2 separate regions of the Homo sapiens genome follow, and region 1 is linked to region 2. The links are contacts of gene promoters, found by promoter capture Hi-C in human tissues and cell types (Jung and others, 2019). All regions are on one chromosome and are shown on one strand. The core of a region is centred on a gene start or on the middle of the fragment in contact, and the rest is flanking DNA. Distances in the headings are between cores, read along the strand shown.

The links. Contacts are between HindIII fragments. The study calls those that stand out against the background at their distance.
Region 1: a fragment that was not itself captured here is called in contact with the fragment with the promoter of HMBS in region 2 in 1 of the 25 tissues and cell types used here (spleen).

The regions. Positions count from the first base shown.
Region 1 is chr11:119,247,534-119,252,023 of GRCh38, forward strand. The region is part of intron 2 of CBL (Cbl proto-oncogene); the gene reads left to right. Among named protein-coding and RNA genes, the nearest start is that of CBL, 43 kb to the left of the region's middle. The HindIII fragment of the contact is 3,159 bases long and covers 101-3,259 here.
Region 2 is chr11:119,083,180-119,087,955 of GRCh38, forward strand. It overlaps HMBS (hydroxymethylbilane synthase), which reads left to right and starts at 1,702. Exons shown (of 14, transcript NM_000190.4): 1 at 1,702-1,887. The coding sequence starts at 1,855. RefSeq lists enhancers at 1,303-2,000, 1,930-1,979. The HindIII fragment of the contact is 11,043 bases long and covers 1-2,221 here.

The DNA.
Region 1 (4,490 bases), core at 430-2,929, 160 kb after region 2:
GGTGTGGTGGCTCACGCCTGTGATCCCAGCACTATGGGAGGCCGAGGCAGACGGATTGCTTGAGGTCAAGAGTTCAAGACTAGCCTGGCCAACATGGTGAAACCCTGTCTCTACTAAAAATACAAAAATTAGCTGGGTGTGGTGATGGGGGCCTGTAATCCCAGCTATTTGGGAGGCTAAGGCAGGAGAATTGCTTGAAACCCGGCAGGCAGGGGTTGCAGTGAGTCGAGATCATGCCACTGCACTTCAACTTGGGTGACAGAGCAAGGGTCCGTCTCAAATAAAAATTATAGTTTTATACATAAGGAATGAACAATCCAAAAATAAAATTAAGAAAATTCCATTTGCAGTAGTATCAAAAATAATAAAATACTTAGGAATAAAATTAAGGAGGCAAAAGACTTGTACACTGGAAACTACAAAACATTGCTGAAAGAAACTAAAGAAGACCTAAATAAATGGAGAGACATTCTGTGTTCATGGATTATAACTTAGAATTGTTAAGGTTGCAGTATTCCCCATGTTGATACACAGTCATTGCAATACCTATCAAAATTCCAGTAGCACTTTTTTCAGAAGCTGACTAGTGGATTTTAAAAGTCATAAAAAATCTTAAGGGACCTCAAATAGCCAAAACAATCTTGAACAAGAATAAAGTTGGAAGACTTGTATTTCTGATTTCAAAGCTTTACTGCAAAGCTGCAATAATCAAAACATTGTGGTACTGGTATAAGGATAGACATACAGACCAGTAGACTAGAATTGAGAGCCCAGAAATAAACCCTCATACATATGGTCAATCGATACTTTTTTGACAAGCTTCTCAATGGAGAAACAACAGTCTTTTCAACAAATGGTGCTGGGAAAACTAAATTATCACATTCAAAAGAATGAAGTTGGATCCTTTCCTTATGTTGCATATAAAAATCCTGCAGAAGGATGGGCCAAAAAAATGAAAACAAACAACTCTCAAAATGTATCAAAGACCTAAATTTAAGAACTAAAATACAAAATTTGTAGAAGAAACATAAGTGAAAATCTTCATGAATCTTGGATTAGGCAATGATTTCTTAAGTATGACACCAAAAGCATAAAGATAGATAAATCAGACTTCATGAAAATTAAGAACTTTGTTCATCAAAGGACATATTAAGGAAGTGAAAAGGCAGCACACAGAATGGGTCAAAATATTTACAAGTTATATATTTGATAAGGGATCAACATCCAGAACATGTAAAGAACTTCAAAACAACAACAAAACAAACCAATTCAAAAATGCTCAAAAGTTTTGAATAGATTTTTCTTCAGAGAAGATATACAGCTGTCCAATAAGCTCATGAAAGGATGCTCAACATCATTAAATCATTAAGGAAATGCAAATCAAAACCACAATGAGATACCACTTCACAGCTGTTAGGTGGATATTATTTTAAGAATAAAACCCTCATGCATTGGTGATAGGAATAGAAAATGGTACAGCCACTGTGGGAAACAGTTTGGCAGTTCTTTAGAAAGCTGAACATAGAATTACCATAGGATCTAGCAGTTCTTCTAGGTACATACCCCAAAGAATTGAAAGCAAGGACTTGAACAGATATTTGTACACCCATGTTCATAGCAGCAGTTTTCACAACAGCCAAAAAGTAGAAGCAGTTCAAGTGTTCAGCAGATGAGTGGGTGAAGCAAATGTGTTATAGCCATATGGTGGAATATTATTCACTCATAAAAAATGAAATTTTCGACTGGGCGTGGAGGTTCATGCCTGTAATCCCAGCACTTTGGGAGGCCAAGCAGGGCAGAACACTTGAAGTCAGGAGTTTGAGACCAGCCTGGCCAACATGGAAAAACCCCATCTCTACTGAAATACAAAAATTAGCTGGGCATGGTGGCACACGCCTGTAATCCCAGCTAGTTGGGAGGCTGAGGCAGGAGAACCGCTTGAACCCAGGAAGCAGGGTTCGCAGTGAGGTGAGACGCCACTGCACTCCAGCGTGGGTGACAGAGTGAGACTCGGTCTCAAAAAAAAAAAAAAAATGCTGTGGGCACATTATAGAGAATTGAAATCAAATAACAAAAGGGAAAGGAAAGTGACTAATATTGCTATTATTTTGGTACAGTTTCTTTCTTTCTTTCTTTTTTTTTTTTTAATTGAGACAGGGTCTCCCTTTATCTCCCAGGTGGTATGATCATGACTCACTGCAGTCTCAGCCTCCTGGGCTCAAGTATCGATCCTCCCACCTAAGCTTCCCAAGTTGCTGAGAATACAGGCACACACTACCATACAGACTAACTTATTTTTTTGTACAGATACAGCCTCATTATGTTGCCCAGGCTGGTCTCAAACTCCTGGGCTCAAGTGATCCTCCTACCTTACTCAGCTTCCTAGAGTGCTGGGATTTTAGATGTGAGCCACTGTGCCTGGCTTTTGTCTGCTAATTCTGTCATCTTTGTCACTCATAGATTTAATTCTATTGGTTTATTTTTATCCTCAGTAAGAGTCATATTTTTCTGTTTCAGTCCATGCTGGGCAATTTTTGAGTGGATGCCAGACATCGTTAATCTTACCTTGTTCTACACTGGATTCTTTTATATTATAAATACTCCTAAGCTGTGTTCTGGGACACAGCTATGTTACATGGAATAGTTTGATCCTTTTAAACCTTGTGAGGCAGGACCAAAATGACCTTTAATCTAGGGTAAATTTCCCCTGATGTCCATTGAATTGTAAGATTTTTTTCCTCTCTTGTCCTTGTGTGAGATCTAGGGATTATTCCCTCTACCCCTTTCAGGTGGTTCTTTCCCTAGCTTCAGGTATTTTCCTGTGTTGATCAGTGCTTAGCTGAAGACTTAGAAGGTCCCCTCTGTAGCTCTTCAAAGCTGGGCTTTCTTTATGCATCTCTCTCCTCTCTTGTATTTTGCACTGTGAACTCCAGATGCCTTGGCTTTCCCAGGCCCCAAATTCTGTCTTCTCAACCCAGAGTGACCGTCAAGTCTGCCTGAATTCCCTTTCTAGTGCTGAGACATGAAAACTCTCCAGGCAGTAAGTTAGATCAATCACAGGGCTTGCCTTATTTGTTTTCCTTTTTCAGGGGGTCCCTGTCCGCTATTGCCTGGTGTCCAGTTTGTGAAAATTATTTCAGGTGCACCAGCTCATGTCTGTAATCTCAGCACTTTCAGAGGCTGGAGGTGGGTGTATTCCTTGAGGCCAGGACTTTGAGACCAGCCTGGCCAACATGGTAAAACCCCGTCTCTACTAAAAATACAAAAATTAGCCGGGTGTGGAGGTGCGCGCCTGTAATTCCAGCTACTCAAGGGGCTGAGGCAGGAGTATCACTTGAACTTGGGAGGCAAAGGTTACAGGTAGCCAAGATCACACCACTGCACTACAGCCTGGGTAACAGAGCAAGACTCTGTCTCAAAAATAAAAAAATATTTTAAATATTTTGTCTAATTTTTTTAGTTCTTTCAGGTGAGAGAGTAAATCCAGTCCTTGTAGTTCCATCTTGGATGAAAGAAGTTGTCCCAGTCTAAAATTTAATTTGGGGTACTTCCAAATTCTGGTGCAATTAATATTTATCATGTGCTTGCTGTGTGCCTGATATATTCAAAACTCAACCTATCCTTCTTCCCTTACTCCCTACCTCACTATACACGTTAGTTGAGCACTTTCTCTGTGTCAGGTATTCTGTATTCATTGTGGAGCTAAATAACCTGGCCTTTGCCTTTATGTAAGGACAGTATTTTTCTCTTTAGAGTTGTGGACACCGAGGCTCAGAGAGTTAGATTAACATACGTTTACCAGCCTCTCTTCCTTAGAAACACACAATGGTTCAACCCAAAAAAAAGATAAGATAAGTCTGCCTTTACCCAAGGTTTTCAAAATGTTAATGAGCAGTTCTGTTTTGTTTGAATGTAAAGGAATGGTGACTGTTTCATTTCATATTACAGAAGTGATTCTTTGGAGGCCATACTTCAAACATCATATAAAGTAGTAAACTACATAAATTTAAGAGAAGTTACACATGTCTTAATAACCTAATAACCATGCCTTTTGGACACAAAAATATTCAGTAGTGTGATTTACAGCAGGATTATATGTTCACATAACGAGAGTTTCACTCCTGAAATTTCTAATGGAACATAGGCTAGATGATGCAGAGAGAGGAATTACAAAGAAACCCTCCTGCACCCACCCCCAAGAATCAGTGATAACTTTTGTAAAACTACGGTATTATAGAGAAGTAGGCTGTGAATGTCAAGTAGAAAGTGCAGAAGCTTTTTCCAATCACTTTACTCTAATATTGCCAACCAAGACTTGCTCTAAAACCATAATACTTGTGAAGTCTACAACTGCATTTAAATTAGGACATCTTAAAGAACAAGCCCCAAAACTGGCTACAAGAACGTCTTTCCTGCCAGGCTTTAGTATACAAAGCCAACAAATGCCTGCTAGAGATACCTAGTAGTGTGAAAATGTTAGCAGCATTGTA
Region 2 (4,776 bases), core at 452-2,951:
TTCCCCCTCAACCTGTGTCTTCATCTGTACGTTAGGGATTATAACACCTATGCTGTGTGGCTATTATGAAAGCCTAAGGATCAAATAGGTGTTCAGTTCTTTGTACAGTGCTGAGCACATGGGTGATTTTTTTTTTCTTCTTAAGACAGGGTCTCACCGGGCGCGGTGGCTCATGCTTGTATTCCCAGCACTCTGGGAGGCTGAGGTGGGCGGATCACCTGAGGTCAGGAGTTCAAGACCAGCCTGACCAACATGGTGAAACTCCGTCTCTACTAAAAATACAAAAACCAGCTGGGTGTGGTGGGAGGTGCCTGTAATCCTAGCTACTCAGGAGGGTGAGGCAGGAGAATTGCTTGAACCCGGGAGGTGGAGGTTGCGGTGAGCTGAGATTGCACCATTGCACTCCAGCCTGGGCAACAAGAGTGAAACTCCATCTCAAAAAAAAAAAAAAAAAAAAATGGGCGTCTCACTCTGTCATCCAGGCTAGAGTGCAGTGGCACCACCACAGCTCACAGCTACCTCGACCTCCTGGGCTCAAGCGATCCTCACACCTCAGCCTCCTGAATAGCTGGGACTACAGGTGTGTGCCGCCACACCTGGCTATTTTTGTATTTTTTGTGGAGATGAGGTTTTCACCATGTTGCCCAGGGTGGTCTCAAACTCCTGGGCTCAAGCAATCCTCCTGCCTTGGCTTCCTAAAGTGCTGGGAATATAGGTGTGAGCCACTGCACCTAGCTGGGTGATTATTAATAATCATGATTGTTAATTATGTTCATGATTACAGGCGCGGTGGCTCACGCCTGTACTCCCAGCACTTTGGGAGGCCGAGGTGGGCGAATCACCTGAGGTCAGGAGTTCAAGACCTGCCTGACTAACATGGAGAAACCTCATCTCTACCAAAAATACAAAATTAGCTGGGTGTGGTGGTGCGTGCCTGTAATCCCAGCTACTCGGGGGGCTGAGGCAGGAGAATTGCTTGAACCCGGGAGGCGGAGGTTGCAGTGAGCTGAGATCGTGCCATTGCATTCCAGCCTGGGCAACAAGAGCGAAACTCCGTCTCAAAAAAAAAAAAAAAATTATGTTCATGGGAAAGCACTTTTCCTAACAAGCCCTTTTCTCACTACATGTAGCGTTTGTGCTCCCACTTCAGTTACTTGTCTTTAGGCATGACCTTTAATCTCTCTGAACCAGTTTCCTCATTTTAAGAATTGAAATGCTGGCTGGGCCAGTGGCTCACGCCTGTAATCCCAGCACTTTGGGAGGCCAAGGCGAGATGACTGCTTGAGTCCAGGAGTTCGAGACTAGCCTGGGCAACATAGTGAGGCCACCTCCCCGCTGTCTCTATAAAAAAATCTAGAAATTAGTCCCACGTGGTGATGTGCGCCTGTAGTCCCAGCTGCTTGGGAGGCTGAGGTGGGGGGATCGCTGAAGCCGGGAGGTCAAGGCTGCAGTGACCCGTGGTCATGCCGCTGCACTCTAGTCTGGGGACACAGTGAGACCCCGTATCAAAAAGAAAAATGCTGCCTATTTCAAGGTTGTAGCAAAGCTAAGTTTGAACAGAGCAAAGGAAGCGCCATAGAAGCTGCACTACTTGCTCATGTCACAGCTGGGGAATGGGGTGGTCGAATGGGGAGGTCCACTGTCGCAATGTTCCAATTCCCGCCCAGAGGGAGGGACCTCCCCTTCGAGGGAGGGCGCCGGAAGTGACGCGAGGCTCTGCGGAGACCAGGAGTCAGACTGTAGGACGACCTCGGGTCCCACGTGTCCCCGGTACTCGCCGGCCGGAGCCCCCGGCTTCCCGGGGCCGGGGGACCTTAGCGGCACCCACACACAGCCTACTTTCCAAGCGGAGCCATGTCTGGTAACGGCAATGCGGCTGCAACGGCGGTGAGTGCTGAGCCGGTGACCAGCACACTTTGGGCTTCTGGACGAGCCGTGCAGCGATTGGCCCCAGGTTGCCATCCTCAGTCGTCTATTGGTCAGAACGGCTATCTTTTTTTTTTTTTTTTTTTTTTTTTTTTTGGTCCGAGTAGCTTTTAAAGGGCCAGTAGCTCGGTTGCCCTCCGGAAGGAATGGGGAAATCAGAGAGCGGTGATACTGGGTTAAGAGTGGAAGGATTGTTTGGAACGGAACTCCGGTCCCTGCGGGCATCTGGGTGGGATTCCCATCAGGCCTGGGATGCACGGCTCTAGATTTAGTGACCCAGACCAAGAACGTTCGTCTACACAGACGGGGTCCTTTCATTCGAGGCTGGGCTGAGGCGGATGCAGATACGGCCCCTTTGGGAAGACACGTTCCACTTTTGATTCATAGGAGAGAGTATCAGCCAAGCCTCCGAACTGCACACAAACGTCTTAGAAGTGCGCCTTCTTTTTGTGTTATAGTGGTCTCCCAGCCACAGCCAACGCTCCAAGTCCCCAGCTGTGACACACCTACTGAATTACTACCGTGGGTGGGAGGCCGCCGTGGGCCTTTCCATTACGAGCCTGCTTGCCGAGCCCTGGGCTTGTGCACAGACAAACTGCAGAGCTGGTGGAGGCCACTGCCAGGCCGAGATAAGAAAGAGATGGGGAGCTGCTAATCTCCCCCTGTCCAGCCTGTTGGTGAGGGCTGGGATCTTTGCTCTTGCAGTCATTCCAGAGCCCTGGACTAGGAGTAGGAAGATCTGAATTGTGGCCCCAACTCTCTTTCGGTTATTAGCTCTGTGACCCTAGGCAAGTCACCTCATCCCTTGATGCCACCCGTTGCTTCTGTAACATGGTCCCAAAGGTGCCTGTCTTGTCCACCTGATAGGATTTTTGAGACGACAACAATATGCAAAAGCAATAGCTTCAACATAGAAGTGCTCAGTGTTTTATTTTTTAATGAAACGGTTTGACTTGGATATGCTGTGCACATTCAATGAACTTAAGGAATTGTTTGAACCTAGTAGTTCTGGGACCTTAGAGTCCTTTCTGTGGGCTCCCTGTGGCCCAGAATTTTGGTGGCCACGTTTAATATCAAGCCTAGCCTAATTTGCAAAGGGTCTCCCAGGGTTAATTTATTGGAGTGATCACATGGAGTAGACCAGAGTCTGAGGGCAGAAAGCTGTCACCTGCTTCGGCAATAGAGGCCCCAGATGTCTGGGTGCAAAAGAACTCCATAGCACCCCGACCAACATGGTGAAACCCCGTCTCTACTAAAAATATAAAAATTAGGCCGGGCACAGTGGCTCATGCCTGTAATCCTAGCACTTTGGGAGGCCGAGGCAGGTGGATTGCCTGAGCTCAGGAGTTCGAGACCAGCCTAGGGAACACAGTGAAACCCCGTTTCTACTAAAAATACAAAAAATTAGCCGACGTGGTGGCATGCGCCTGTAGTCCCAGCTACTTGGGAGGCTAAGACAGGAGAATCGCTTGAACCTGGGAGGTGGAGGTTGCACTGAGCCGAGACCGCGCCATTGCACTCCAGCCTGGGTGACAGAGCGCGACTCCCCCTCAAAAAAAGAAAAAAAAAAAAAATATATATATATATATACACACACACACATATTTTAGCTGGGCATGGTGGTGTGCGTCTGTAGTAGTCCCAGCTACTTGGGAGGCTGAGTCAGGAGAATCGCTTGAACCTGGAAGGCAGTGGTTGTAGTTAGCTGAGAACATGCCACTGCACTCCAGCCTGGGCAACAGAGGGAGACTCTGTCTCAAAAAAAAAAAAAAAAGGAACTACATAGGATGAACATCCCAGATCAGGGAATGTTGACTGTCGACAGTATCAGTATCTACAGTGGCTACTGTCTGATGTAGAAAGAAATGGGATCAGGCTAGGCGTGGTGGCTCACGCCTGTAATCCCAGCACTTTGGGAGGCTGGGGCAGGAGGATCACAAGTTCGAGACCAGCCTGGCCAACACAGTGAAACCCCGTCTCTACTAAAAATGTGAAAATTAGCTGGGCATGGTGGAACATGCCTGTAGTTCCAGCTTGAACCCAGGGGTGGAGGTTGTAGTGAGCCTAGATCACGCCACTGCACTCCAGCCTGAGCAAAACAGTGAGACTCTGTCTAAAAAAAAAAAAAAAAAAAGAGAGAAATGGGACCTCCGTCTTAGACTGAAGAATTCAGTTCTACGTGCTTAGCAGTGAATACTTTTGTCCAAGGTACTCTGGCAGGAGGAAGAGGCGTGTCCTCTTGAGTTCTTGACTTGGGCTCTGGCCTGTTAATATTTCCATGTTGGTGAAACCAGAGGCAGCACTCTAGGTGCACGAACTTTAGGCAGCGCAGCCTCCTAGTCTTATGGAACATCTGAGGCAGAAGAAACCTGAGTCCAACCTTTTCATTTTATAGATGAACAAACAGATCCTGGTGGGACAGTGTACCCAAGGTCACCCAGCCAAGAGGCTGAGCAGGACTGTACGTCAGATCCGTTTACCTCAGTCCTTAATGCATGCAGTCCAGCCAGATTAAGGGACCCTTAATACTGTCAGCTTTCCCCACTGTGGGATCTTCATCCTCTTGACTTCTTTTGTAGCCAGACATCTGGGCCTCTTGCTGGAGAAGGTGGCAGCTTGCTGCTCTTAGACTCTAGTCTACTCCATGTGGCATCTGGATGGCACTGAAATTTTCTCAAGTGCCTTGTCTGTTGTAGATAATGAATCTATCCTCCAGTGACTCAGCACAGGTTCCCCAGTGTGGTCCTGGCTGCCCTGCCCCTGCCAGCTGCAGGCCCCACCCTTCCTGTGGCCAGGCTGATGGGCCTTATCTCTTTACCCACCTGGCTGTGCACAGCACTCCCACTGACA